Regions from separate parts of the Homo sapiens genome. Here region 1 is linked to region 2. Evidence: promoter capture Hi-C in human tissues and cell types (Jung and others, 2019). All regions are on one chromosome and are shown on one strand. Each heading gives the region's core, a stretch centred on a gene start or on the middle of the fragment in contact. The rest is flanking DNA. Distances are from core to core; before and after follow the strand shown.

Region 1 (6,623 bases), core at 288-2,787, 110 kb after region 2:
ATCCAAAAGGAGCAGAATGGGGGTTGGGTGCTGTGTGTAGAGTCTGTGGCTGCTGTCAAATCAGCTCCATGTATCAGGACAGCCAGGCTTTGCACAATCTGATGCAAAGGTAGTAAGATCAGGATCTCCCTGCTTGTAAGAAGGAGGCTACATCATTTGTCTGATGACTAAATGAAAGGAAAACAGAATAGAGAAACACACAAGGGGATTTCCAACCTCTTTCCAGACCCTCAGGGAGAGGATTCACTCAGCCTTTTTCTTCAGGGAATGTCCTGTGAGGCTCATGCAGTTGGAGCCTTGGGGACCATGGGGTCCATGTCGGGAGAGCTTCCCGGCCACATGCCTGGAGTTGCCACACATTACTGTTGTGAAGGAGGAGTAGGAGGAAGCACTGTGTGAAATTTCAGGCTTCTTCTGGATTCCAGGTTTGCCCCAACCAGATGACCTAGAAGGTCTTGCTTGGGCGTGTTGGTTATCTTGTATCTTGGGCTTTCTTAAAAGTGACTTACCCACACATACATACATATGTGTGTGGTACTCATCCCACACATACATAGATGCATAGGACTTACCTTCACACGCACACATAGATGCACGGTAAGATATCCACTCAGTACAAAGGAAATTGAATGAAAAGTACATCTCCCTTCTTTCCCTGTCCTCCAGCCCTCAGTTCTTACTTTTTTGGCAGCTGTTGTCCCCAGCCCCCTGTGGATCCTTCCAGACATAGTCTAGGCATGTCCTGGTGCCTGTTCCCCTTCTGCTCTTCCTGCGGCCTGCTGAAGAAGCAACCAGGATGTAAAGAGACAGGGCCCACAGGGCTGCAGAGACTTGGCCATTGTCTCATTTGGCCAAGGCCTAACCATTTCCCCTTCCACTCTACTTTGCCAGCTCTCTCCTTTAGGAGTCCCCTTGTGTTCGATTTGGGGGTTCAAAGAGCCTGGAATCTGAGAATAAACCTCAGGGGCATGTTGTGGATGCAGGTGACATAGGCAAAAACAAAAAGCACTAAGACAGACCTGGGCTCAAATCCGAGCCCTGTGGCCTTGGGCGAGTTAATGAATCCTAGTATTTTAGTCTACATAAAGGAGGTAATTATACCTATTACAAGAGCTTGATCTGGAGATGAAATTAAAATATTTGTGAAGTCCCTTGCCTGGATATGCACTCCAAAATGTCAGGGTTTTTGTTGTTGTTGTTGTTTTGTTTTTTCACATTTAACGAGTGACCCATTGCCAGAATGAATGACACTGGTATGGAGTCCTCTGGATGGCTTTCTGAAAATCCTCTAGGTGGGTTCCTGAGCTTTTCTTTCCCTGCAGAAGGCAGCCAGTTCTCCATTTTCTACCAAGTTGAGTTGGCCCCACTACTTCCTCCTCCTGTAGGGAGCCAACCTCCATCCTTCCCAGCCACTGGATACCACCTCCTCCTCTGCCCTTGACCCCTGAACCCTCTTCTCCGTTTCCCTGGGCTCTGGGTTCCCCCCTCCTCCCCTCGTGAACAGGATGCTGCCTGCCGCCTGGAGAGTGCTGTGGGCTGTTTATGGCTGCTCTCTGGGGTGTTTATGTTGTATCTCTTCAGAAGCTCCTAGCAGATGTCTGTTTATTGCTGAAACTTCATCTACGGCATGAGAGGAGAGAGGCTATTTTTAAAGATCTTTAATTGGCATGGCTGCACAATACAGCTTAGATTGCCTCCAAGTTTAATTCTTCATCGCTCTTATGCTCTATCCATTATGAAACCCTTCAAATCCAGCCTGAGAGACCTTATATGTCCTGATTTTAGAGCAGCACTTAAATTCAGCAGACAGTTGTAATCTCTAAAAAAGGTAGGCCAAGGAGGTGAAGGCAACTGGCTGACTGTCTTTTGTCTAGGCCGAGACAGATGGCATGAATGAGAGCATAGAATGCAACACCTTTCCCCCACTTCTGCCCCTTCTTTCCACCTGCAGTGGTTGAGGCCCGCCCTCATAGGCCGCCTGCGGATTGGCTGGGAGATCTCTAGCTCTCCCTTTCCCTTTGGACTCAGGTGGGGCTTGAGAGTGGGGTAGTTTCAAATGACACTGACCTCCCAGGAGGGAGGAGGCCACAGAGGCCATGAGTCACAGAGCCTTGGGATGTCAGGTTGGATGGGCCTCATGGGATGGTGTAGTTCTCATCCTGGCCACCTTGTTTTACCTATGGAGAAACTGACACTCGGATGCTTCCTGATGCTGAGTGGACAGAGAGGTGTGTTTCTTGCTCAAGGTCACCCAGCCAGGTCAGAGTCAGGTCTCTTTTCCATCTACCATTTCCCACCAGGCTGTGGTCCTTGATCAGTCTAAGGCAGCTGTGCTTACAGTTGGCTGCGTGTACCGAAGGACAGAGCCTCATCCTCCCTTTCTAAAACCTCCCACATTCTTTGAATTTATGCTGTGTACGCTTGTAGCACTGGCTGGTCTCAGTCCCAAGATCTTTTCTTATCATGAACACCTCCCCCAGAGCCTTGGGGCTTAGAATTCCCACCTTTGTTCCTAGCCCTTGTCCGCAGAAGCCCTTTGTTAAAAATACAGAAGTTAACTGGGAAGGACCATATGTTGACAGAGATGAGTTTATCTTTGATTAGCTGTCAGCCAAGGGCTGAACCTTAAGAGGATGGGGCATAGGATGAGTCAGCTGGGAACAGGAGGAGGAGGGAATCCTGAGAGATGGCAAATAGGGTGCTGGGGGCATCAACAGCCATAGGCCCAGGCTCGGAGCTCACAGTGTGCAGCTGCTGGGCTAGAGTCCCTGTGATGACTGGTGGAAGCTGCCTGCTCTTCTAACTCATGGAGGGAGGTGCATTAGACAAGCTCACCTGTGGCTGAACACCGAGACAGAGTATGGAATGTCCACAGAGTCCCACAGTAGGGGGGAACCAGGGGAGGCTTCCTGGAGGAGGTGGAGTTTGTAGATTGAGAAGGGTATTGGAAGATAGGTATGATTTCCATAGGCAGAGATGGGCAGAGGTAACAGCACAAAGAGATGTAGAAAAGTGAGGGCACAGTCAGGGTACCATGTGGTAGAAACGTGAGGGCTGCCTAGAGAAGCTGAGGCTGGAATCAGGCTGCTCTGAGGCATGGAGAGCCCTGAGTTCTGGGGGCGGTGTGGGTGTGGACTGAACCCAGCGGACTGTGGGAAGCTGTCAGAGAGGGATAGTCAGAGTCATCCTTCAGGGCACTGCCCTCCGTTCACGGGAGGTGCACACTGCCAGACAGCTGCCATTCCCCTGGACTGAGGAGGGCTGTGGGGAACAGGGTGGGGGGCAGTAAGGCTGGGCCCCCAAAAAGACTTTGTCTGTATCCTGGCTTTTGACCCACAGCCTTCTTTGTGAAGGGAGTCTGCAAGCAAAATGTTGTCTTTGGTTTATCAGGAGGGCAGCCCTTTTTGGAACTCCTGGTTAGGGTCTTAGGATATGGGACATCTGTCACATTCTGCAGCTTGTACACCCAAGTGTGGCTGTCTGAGCTTTGGTGGCTCTTGACTCTGTGTAGCAAACAGCGTCTGCTTCACTTTCACCACCTCGCTGCGGGCTAAGCTCTTCACACGGATCTTCTCCTGACTCAAGGTCAATTTGAGGGGAATAAATAGGGCAGTCGAGGTGCTGAGCTCCTCTGGGGGCTACTGCTGGAGCAGGAGCAGGAGTTCCCTGTCTGTGTGTGAGGGAGGCAGCAAAGCTGGGATGGTGCAGGAACCCAGCTGACCACCTCCTCCAAAGAAAGCGCCTTTGGAAGAATTGGCTCTGTAGGAGTCAGCGGCTGTCAGAGCATTTGTACATCATCTGGAATGATGCTGATTCTCTCCTCTGCACAGCCTCACAATCACCTGAATATCCCCTTCAAGTGCATCCTGCCCTGGGTTTCCTGTGTGCACATTGAGTTTCCTTCTCTAGTTGAAGAGAGAGTTTGCAGAGGCTGGCAAACCTGGAGCTGGACTGAATGGCCTGGACAGGTGGAGCAGGTAGGGGGTTGGTTGCCTCCCAGCCCTCTGGCCATCGTGGCCACAGGGAGGTGGATAAAGGCTGAGCTCTGCTTCCGCCTGCTCCCGTGTTAAGCTGGCAGATGGGAGGCACCACAGCCTGGTGCATTTTCAGCTTTGACATTTGAGCGGGGCTGGCACCTGTTCTCTTCCATGTATGTCTCAGGGACACTTTTGCTTTATGTGATGGAATAAATTGTTCCCGCAAGCAGCAAATGTAATGAGTTTAGTGCTATTGATGGGAGGTATTGATGGGATTTGGGGTGGGGCACTGAAATGGGCTTGCTTTCTTTTTTCTCCTAGGATCAGTGCTACCCATATGAGAACAAGCTGATTTGTTCACTGATTGATAAATTGATTGCTCAGTGCATTCATTCTGTCAGCCAAGATTTTTGGAGTACTCTCAATTTGAAGCATGCTGTCACAGACAGACCATGGGTTTTCAGTCACTGTAAACACTGGACAAGCCACACACATACTATCTCTGAACCTTGGGTTTGTTCTCTGTAAAATGGGAGTGATGCTACTTACCTCACGGGGAGGTTGTGAGGATTAAATGGGGTAATGGGCGTAGCACACCTCTCATGGTGCCTGGCACATAGTGGCCTGCAGGTGGCCTCTTCCCCTCTGGCTCATTCCTGAATTGGCCCACAGGAGCCTTGGAGCACAGATGTGGGCAGGGTTCCTTGTTGCCGCAGGCCTCTCATTCGGTACTGGCCCCTAAGTGCCTTTTACCTTTAATAACTTTTAATTGTTTTTTAAAGACAAGAGTCTCACTCCGTCACCCAGGCTGCAGTGTAGTGCGATCCTGGCTCACTGCAACCTCTGCTTCCCAGGTTCAAGCAATTCTCCTGCCTCAGCCTCCCGAGTAGCTGGGATTACAGGCATGTGTCACCACGCCTGGCTAATTTTTGTATTTTTAGTAGAGACAAGGTTTCTCCATGTTGGCCAGGCTGATCTCAACCTCCTGACCTCAAGTGATCTGCCTGCCTCAGCTTCCCAAAGTGCTGGGATTACAGGAGTGAGCCACCGCGCCTGGCCTGCCTTTAATGACTTTTTAAAGGGAATGGCTCAGTCAAAGCACCTGTGTGTGCAGTGAAGAACGATGGGCCACCTTTCGCTTCCTGGTGAGAAGTTCTTCTCATAAACCTTGGAACTGCAGGTCTGGGAGAGCCTTATCATCAATCCCACTGGATGCTTGACTCCACAGTGGTGGTTTAGCCTGAGTTTATAGGTGGGAGGTGATCCATCCTGTCTTTGAACTCCTCCTTCCTGATGGCTTCCTATAGCTTCTGGCATTTGGTCCCAGTTCTTCCCCTTGGGTGCCATGGAGAGTAGGTCTAATCTGTCTACCACCCAATAGCTCTTCAGAAATTGTTTTTTTTTAATCAAATCTCTAACACCATCAACTGAAAGATATACCATTATTTCATGTACCCTCAAGAAAGAAAAAGAGCTGCCAATTAAACTGTGGCACAATGCTTTGCCATTGCTTAAAATTTTTATTCTATATTTTCTGAATTTTTTAAGATTTTAGACATACTTTTTTTATTTTATATCACTCTTGCATATATATAAAAGTAAATTGGTTAAGGCATTTCTAAAACTTCGCTTTCAGAATCTAACTCTTCTGAATCACTTTTTGACTGAGATTCATCAATGTCCATGGTTTTCTGACTCACTGTTCTCTTCTAGTCAGGTGGGGATGTATTTCTTCATCTCTCTTGTCCCTGGAATTTTTTCCAGCTGCTGACACCCATTATGTCAGTTCTGGTGTTTTCTTGATTTTACCAGAAGGCATCAATGAAAGTTTTTTTGTTAACAACCAGGACTCACATTCCTTCCTTAAATGGTCCTTAAAAGTATTGGCTCCTGAAATGTTTTAGATCATGGTTGTTCAGATATGCCACCAGGAATGAGTCAAATTTCCATATGTGAGGCGGTGACAGCTATGCCACAGCTGCATCCCGGGAGAGATCGTTAGGTTTCAGGGGGTTTTAAGACACATTCTGCTTTCAGACATTTTATAATGGGAAAAATGCATTTCTGATCAGTGAAATACGTTATTTAAAGACAGCCCTCTGTTTCTCTCCTGCATCTTCTTCCAGATTAACAACCCACAGTGTGGGTTCAGGATTTTTACCTTCTCTGTGGTTTTCCTCTGAACATGCCTTAGTTTGTTCAGATCTTTTTATACAGCGAAGGCAGTGTCCAGACCATATATTGTATTTATGGTATGAGGACAGCAGAAGAAGGGAGCTATCACCTCCAGTTCCGGACATTCTGCTTCTCTTAATGCAGCCCAAGACTCTATGAGCTTTGCTGGCAGCAGCATCACATCACAGACGTTACTGCTGACTAGGTCTTTTTAACATGTGCTGTTGCTAAGCTGCTTCTCCCCTGTCCTAAACTTGTGTGGCTTTAGAATTTAAAGGCAGAGCCTCCTATTTTGCTCCTGCTTGATTCAGAATGATCATTCCTGTTAAGTTTCAACTTGTTAAATTCAGTGCAGCCCTGTTCCATTGATCAGAATCCTATTTAAGTATGCCTTCCACAGCGTCACCCAAGTCATGATAAATGCTTATCGAAGGGACCCCTCTGTCACACTCCTGGAGACCTCCCCTCAGT
Region 2 (7,091 bases), core at 4,592-7,091:
CGCTGTTGATGCCCTGCCCATCTCCTGGTGGCCTAATCTGGAGGTCACCTGTATCCAGTTCCCATACATGCCAACAACCAACTCTGTCTCTCTCTAAGGGCATTCTCTGGTCACCAAAGTATGCTCAGTCTGCAGAGGCCCCAAGTGCTAGGGAGTTAACATCCTAGCAATGAAAGTCAGGCTATGGAGGTAAACAGTCTAGCTTCTCCCTTCGCTAGACAATTCTAAAGCATGTAGAATCTACGTAGTCTCCCTCTAAGGCCTCCAGTGGGATGGAGCCCTAGATGCCCGCAGCAGTAACCTGCTTGCAGGCATACCGTTGATTGTCTTTCTTTTCTTTCATCACACTTTCCCACTTCCTGCTAGTGTTTTCTGGGAGCACATCCCAAATGCACTATTTGCTCTTAAGTCCTTGTGGCAGGACCTGTTGTTGGTGGTGGTAGGGGCAGGGGATGGAGGGAACCTAAACTTACTCCCTGTAGGTAGGGCCACAGCTGTGTCTCCTTCCCCACCCTGCCTCTTGGGTACCCTTGTAGGAAATCCTTGCAGAGGGACCCTTGTAGAGGGTCAGTTAACCAGTTCCCGGGGTCCACACCCCTTCTGGTTTTCTTAGACATATGTTCTTCTCTGGTGTCAGGTTTCTGTGGCCGCTGTCCTCAAATCCTCCAGGCTCATGATCCTCCATAACATCTATACCAGATATGTCAGTGACCTCATATCTGCACCCAACTTCCCCTTCCAGATTTATCACCCTGTCCTGGCCCTGATGAGTGGGCAGTTGACAATGTGACCTGTTCACAGCTGATGGGACCCAAAGGGAGGCCACATCATAGACTAATTGAGCCAATCAGATACTCTCTCTAGGAATTTCAAATGAGAGACATAAAGAGAAGTTCTACCTGATAGTTGGCAATTTTCCAACACTGCTATTTTTGACTATGGGCTATTTTTATTTTTTTTTTTAAAAAAAGAATGCTCAAAAAGTATTTTCCTATTTAAAAAAATCACTGTCCTCTATCCCCTTAAGTACTAGATGAGCCCCTGCTTTAACCACCAGGTTTGCTGAGCTGAGGAGGATAAGAGGAAAGAATCCTCATGTCTCAATGCAACACAAAAACACTAAACTCAAAGTGTGAATAAAACCTGGTAGGCAGAAAGGCTCAACAAGGACTTAGTCAGTGGCCGGATTCTGTGCTGGATTCTGAGATGGCTGCTGAGATGTTTGAAACTTGATCACTGGCTTCATAACAATAATAATTCTAAGAATAGCCCCCACGTTTGGGGCATTGACTATGTCTGAATCGTTGCACCAGATGCCTTGAATATTGACAGCAACCTTATGGGGAAGCTGTGATTATAGAGTCAGGTCCAAAAGTTTAAAAAATTGAAATATCTGGATCCCTTCATGGACCCGCTGAATTGGGATTTCTAGAGATGAGACCCTGATAATACTGAGCTTCTCAGCTTATTCTGAGGATTTCCCTCCCCTCCCTCTGATCCCCAGTTAAGAATCTCCGTTCCAGGCAATAGGGAACTACAGCAAGTTCCAGAAGGCTAGCGGGAAATAATATAAAGAGTAGATCAGAAAGAGAGGGGAGTCAGGAAACTGGCTAGAATTAGGTCTAGGAGATGGGAGCTACTTCTGGGTAGGGACCTTCTAGGTGGGAAAGACTCTAAGTAAGTCTAGAAGGATCAAGCCACTGAGAGATGGCCACTGGATGAGTCAAGTCATTGCCTGCAGCATCCTCGGAGAGGAACACAGTGGAAAGTACCAGGATTCTGGAGTCAGACAAGGTGGGTTCAAGTCCTGGCTCTGCCACAAAGTAGCTGTATGACTTTAGGCAAGATACCAAATCCCACTAAACCTCAGCTTGCTCATTTGTAAAATAGGGATGTCCTACTTTGTTGAGTAGATATAAGAATTAAGGACCATGCAGTAGATATAAGAATTAAGGCATGAAATACACTATCTGCCACACAGCAAAGATGAAATACACAGCTGTTTTTATCCCGTTGCCCTTTAAGAAGGCAGTTTCAAAAGAAGCCAGTTTGTTTTGCCAGAGTTCTGAAGGGAATGGGTAGCTAGAAGCAGGAAGAGCAAACGTTGATATCATGTGTTTGAAGAGCTTGCCAACAAAGGGGAGAAGAAATGGGGCTGAGATAGAAGACAGAATGGGCAAGAAAATGACTTTCCTTAAAAGCAAGAGACCTTGCCCTCAGTTACCACTCTGGTTAGTGATAGAAAAAAACGCAGCTGGGAAGAGAAGACTGAAGGTGCTGGAGAGGACCCACCCAGAAGAAGAGAATGTTTTAGTGTTTTTAAAATTCCCATCGGGATCAGTTTGGCTTTCAAATAATTGACAAGTTGCCAAACCTAGAATTTGCTCTGGGCTGAGCAGATAGTCTTTTTATAAAACTTTTCCCCCCAGCTCAGCCACTGGTTATTTCAACAGAATGAGCTAACGGTTCTTAAATGGCACCATGAACTAAAAGTATAGTTTACAATGGAAATTTCAACCGCAACTATTATTGCCACTAGCAAGAGAAACTTAAGTCTGAAGCAAAAGGAGCTGTTTCGTAGAGGAGGAATGTGAATGCTATTAAAAATGGCACTTATACTAGAAATAGGTGAGGCAGTAAGAACATTCTAAAATGAGTGAGTTACAGAGCTGGCCATGAGGGGAAGAGAAACAGAGTGGTTATATCTTCAGAATACATTGATTGGTAGCATATAGAATAGTAACACAGGAAAGTAGGAATATCCCAGATTGAAGCCATTTGAAGATATGCTTCTTCCAATAATGACCGTACAAGTAGAGCTGCTTTGTCCTTCCCCTTAAGAAACTTCAACAGCTTGATTCAGCTGGAACATTGAAAATGCCAGGAAGTTACTTGAAAGGAGATTCATGATGCAACTATGTAAACAAATAATGCATCTGGCCCAGGTCCTTTTTGATTTTTCCCCTGAACAATGACTAAATACCAATTATCCTGTGTCTATGAGATTTAAGGGGCATTCTGGCAGTCTCCATAAAAAGTTAATACTAATAACCACAGTCTATAAACAATCTATTGTATTCTATTTTTGAAGATATCTAAAAGATACTTTTAGTATTTTAAGATTAATTTTTAATGGTTTAAGATATTTTAAAAGATAGATTCTATTGAGAATCTATCAGACACTGGTGGTGTTTTGTTATCATTCATACTGCTACTAGTAATATGATGATAATGATACCTGTTACTTATTTACAACCAACCATCATGTCATCCTTACAGCCACCTCACAATGAAGCTACCTGTATTACACGTGTTTTACTTAACCCCATTTTAGGCAGTCAGCGGATGGCCTGCCCTAGAACCACAGGCATCACAAGCTCAATTTAATGTGAAGCTGCAGAATTAAGAGACATTGGGGCCTATATGACTCCCTTCACCCTTTAATTGTTCCATGTCATGATAGTTTCACAATCACAGGAAACAAAGATCATGGATCTTGGGCTCTTGACCTGACCAGTGGATATTCAGGGATAGCTGCCCAACTCACTGATTTGCTTTACTTGCAGCATCTCATTTAATTCTCACCTTACCCTAAGAGGTGGACATTTCTCCACTTCAGACTCGGAACGCCACTGCCAGTAAGTGGCAGAGCAGGGACTGGATGAGGGAAGATCAGTCCCCACTGCCTCTTCTCCTGCCATGGTGTTCAACCTCTCTCATCCTGTACCCACTGCCAGCGAGGACACCTCTGGGAAAGAGTGGGGTAGAAGTGACAGCCCACATCTCCTCTGGTGGCAAACTTCAACCCCCCAACCTACACAGAGCCACATCTAGAGGGAGGAAAGCTGGGGTCTTGGCAAAATCCAGTCTGGATAACGCCCATGGAGAAGACCCCGTCACTAGGTCCTGCAGGGCCCCACACTGCTCTGCTCAAGAAGAGACTGAAGAGGCCCTTGCTGCTCTCTCTCCTCCCTCAGCAGAAGCTAACGTCAGAGGACCACGCTGCAGACTTTCTGAACAGTGGTGGGCACAAAAACATAGAGGTGACTTAGTCAGTCTTACCGGGAATCTGTGTGCAGGAGGGAAAGTCCTAGAACCTGGATAAGGAAAGCAGATGGCCTGCCCTAGAACCAGAGGCATCGCAAACTCCACTTAATTTGAAGCTTCAGAGTTAAGAGACATTGGGGCCTATCTGAATCCCTTCACCCTTTAATTGCTCCATGTCATGATTGTTTTGCAATCACAGGAAACAGAAAGATCATGGGTCTTGGGATCTGGGCCTGTCCAGTGGATATTCAAGGACAGCTGCCCATTTCACTGCCTCCCAAGCCAGTGTCCCCTTCACTGCAAACTCCACAGGCTAACTGTTGTGGAGTGGGAGGGGAAATAGCCCCAAACTACAAAGGGCTGCGGGGAGAAAGCAACTTCCCCCTGGAGACAAGGGCCAGCAGTTAAGGCTTTGCCCAAGGGGGATACCAAGCTGGAGACAGCAGGGATGTGAAGCCAGACCAGGGGCCAACCAGCCTGGACATTGGTTTCCTGCTGCCTCCTTCACTAGGACGGCTGGCTCCTCTCTATAGACACAGGCTACAGACAGATTGGGCCCAACAGCGCCCTCGTCTACCCACCCCAGGCACCAGGGACAGCTCCCCGCACCTGGACAGAGAGGGCTGGGCCAGTGACATCTCCTGCCCAGGTAGCCCTGGGCATGCGTGGGTGACCATCACAGAGGACAGAACAAGATGCCACCCACAGTGTTTAGACCTGGAGGTGATGGAGGGCAGAAGCTAGGCAAAGCTTTGCTAAGGTACGTGGTATCTGATAATAGTTGCTAAATACTGCGCACCTATTATTTGCCAGGTGCCCACACATATGACATTTAGTTTTCACAGGAAACTGAGGTGCAGGATATTAAGTGATTTGCCCAATGTCACCCTGCTACTGAGTGGCAGAGGAGGACCTGAGCCCAGGACAACTGCGAAGCACCGTTGGGTGGAGGGGGTATTGCCTCTCACATCCTCATCCGCCACTCATACAGTGCTGAGATTTAGGATTTCCATCTTCCCTCTCTGCCCCCACATTGCGTGAGAAGCAAGACAGCCCAGACAGACTGCCAGCAAAGCTCAGGGCTCTTTGCCTCTTTGTCCCTGCATGGCATCCTAACAAGCTCAAAGCATAACGGACAAGCTAGAACTTGGCGATGCCTGGAGCTTGTCCCGGGTTTCTGTGAAACCACAGTGCTGGAATACCAGGGGCCCTGCAAACCTCTGCTGACAATAGGGAAGGCCAACGGCATGCCTGACGCCAACTGCAGGCAGGTGGTGGCCCCAGCTACCTAGGGAGGGTCCAGTGCAGAGCCTCTCGGTGGACAGGCTCAGATCCAGACTTTTTGGCAAGGAGGCAAAACGAGGCGGGAGTAGGGATCACCGTGCGCTGCCTCCAGGTCACTCCGCATCTGCTGTCGGCCCTTCCCAGGCCCTGCGCGGGACCCGAGGTCCCTGGCCAGCGCTCTTCCATGCCTTCCCAGACTTCGCTGCCCCCAGTCTGGCGCTTCTCAGAGCCCCGCGCCGCCAGGGCGCACCCACCTCTTCCACCGCGCTGCGCAATTTGTGCTGCGTGTCCTCCATCAGTTCCTCAACCTCGCGGAACATCTCATTGAGGGTGGCCTCCTCCTGCGGGTAGCTGAGAGCCGGGCCGGGCTTGACTGGAGCCGAGGTCGCCGTCGGAGCGGGCGCGGGGGCCGTGGGGACCGCCGCCGCCAGCAGCAGGCACAGCAGGGTGGCCCCAAGCCGCTGCATCTCCGCTCTGCGCCCGCAGCCGCCGCCTGTGTGTCCCGGAACGCGATCAGAGGCGCGCGGACCACCCCCCTCGCTGGGCCCGCCGCCCCGCCCCGTTCCGCCCCGCCGCCCGCCCCTGGCGCCCCTCTTTCCCGCACCCGCCCGGAGACGGGAGGAAACCGAGGCCCCTGAAAACGCAGCTCCCCTACACCCGAAAAGACGCGACCCCACCCGCTCCAGCCCGAGCCCCGATCGCCCCAGGACCCCGCACCCCCATCCTCGAGCACAAGCTGAGCTCTGCTCCTCACCTGTGATGCTGGAGCCCTCGCCAGAGCAACCGAACCCGGATCCTCTACGCTAATAGCTCCCAAGCCCCAGCTCACCTAGACTCTGTCCCCGGTTCAAACCCTAGCCCCTCCTCGACCAGGTCAGAGTGCCCGACCCCCACTTCCACCTCAAGCCTCTCTCAGCCCCTACCTGGGGTGGACCAAGCACAGGTCAGCCCCCTCCCCTTGGCGTCGGGTCCTACTCGAGCGCCCCGCCCCACATCCACCAAGAGAGGCTGAGCTCAGCAGAGTCGTCCCCTCCCCCGCCGCCGCCCCTCACCCACCCCGACTGGACCGAGTTGCGCTGCGGGCCGGACTGGATCTGCTCGCTCCCGCCGGGAGGCCGCCGGGCTGCGGGTGCAGATGCGGGAGCGGCGCGGTGGGCGGGCCGCGGGTGCGGGAGCGCGGCGGGGTGCGGCAGCGCCGGTACCCGAGGGAGCCCGCAAGACGCGCCCCGCCCGCCCACCAGGCTCCCTCTCCGCCCCCGCCCCGAGCCCCGCCCGCCCACCAGGCCCACCCCGCCCCGCGGAGGGGCCGCAGCCCGGCCATTGGCCAGCCGGGGCGCCGGCCACCTCACGCCCCACGCCCCACGCCCTCCTCTTCTGCCTCAGCGACCAGCTCTACCGAAGGCAGCCATCTCCTTCACTGCCTGCCCCTGCGCCCGCGGCATCCCAGGCCCGTCTTCTCTGGCCTCCAGGCTTGCAACAGCCCACCGAGGTTGGGGGTAGGGGGAATGTTCCTCAGTCCCACCTTGGTCTTTCCAAGCCAACCTCTGTCCTGTGAAATCCTCAGGAAAAATCCCAGCCCCCAGCCTGGCATTCAAGCCATCACCGCTGGCCTTAGTCTGCCGTGATTGACACCGTGCTCCAGCCAGGATAACGCACTTGCAGCTCCTGGAATGGGAGAACGTCATGAGAAAGTCAGCAAGCTCCTCAAGGGTGGCATAGAGGAGTGGTCAGGACCAGACACCTGCAGCCAGCTCTGCTCC

The links. The method cuts DNA at HindIII sites, captures the fragments that hold promoters and counts their contacts. A contact is called where the count stands out against the background at its distance.
Region 1: a fragment that was not itself captured here is called in contact with the fragment with the promoter of DKK3 in region 2 in 2 of the 25 tissues and cell types used here (adrenal gland and thymus).

What each region holds. Positions count from the first base shown.
Region 1 is chr11:12,117,673-12,124,295 of GRCh38, forward strand. All of the region lies in intron 1 of MICAL2 (microtubule associated monooxygenase, calponin and LIM domain containing 2), which reads left to right. Among named protein-coding and RNA genes, the nearest start is that of MICAL2, 10 kb to the left of the region's middle. The HindIII fragment of the contact is 5,960 bases long and covers 1-4,517 here.
Region 2 is chr11:12,002,785-12,009,875 of GRCh38, forward strand. DKK3 (dickkopf Wnt signaling pathway inhibitor 3) reads right to left here and starts at 5,842. Exons shown (of 7, transcript NM_001018057.2): 1 at 5,586-5,842. The coding sequence starts at 5,798. RefSeq lists an enhancer at 4,094-5,029. The HindIII fragment of the contact is 8,758 bases long and covers 4,481-7,091 here.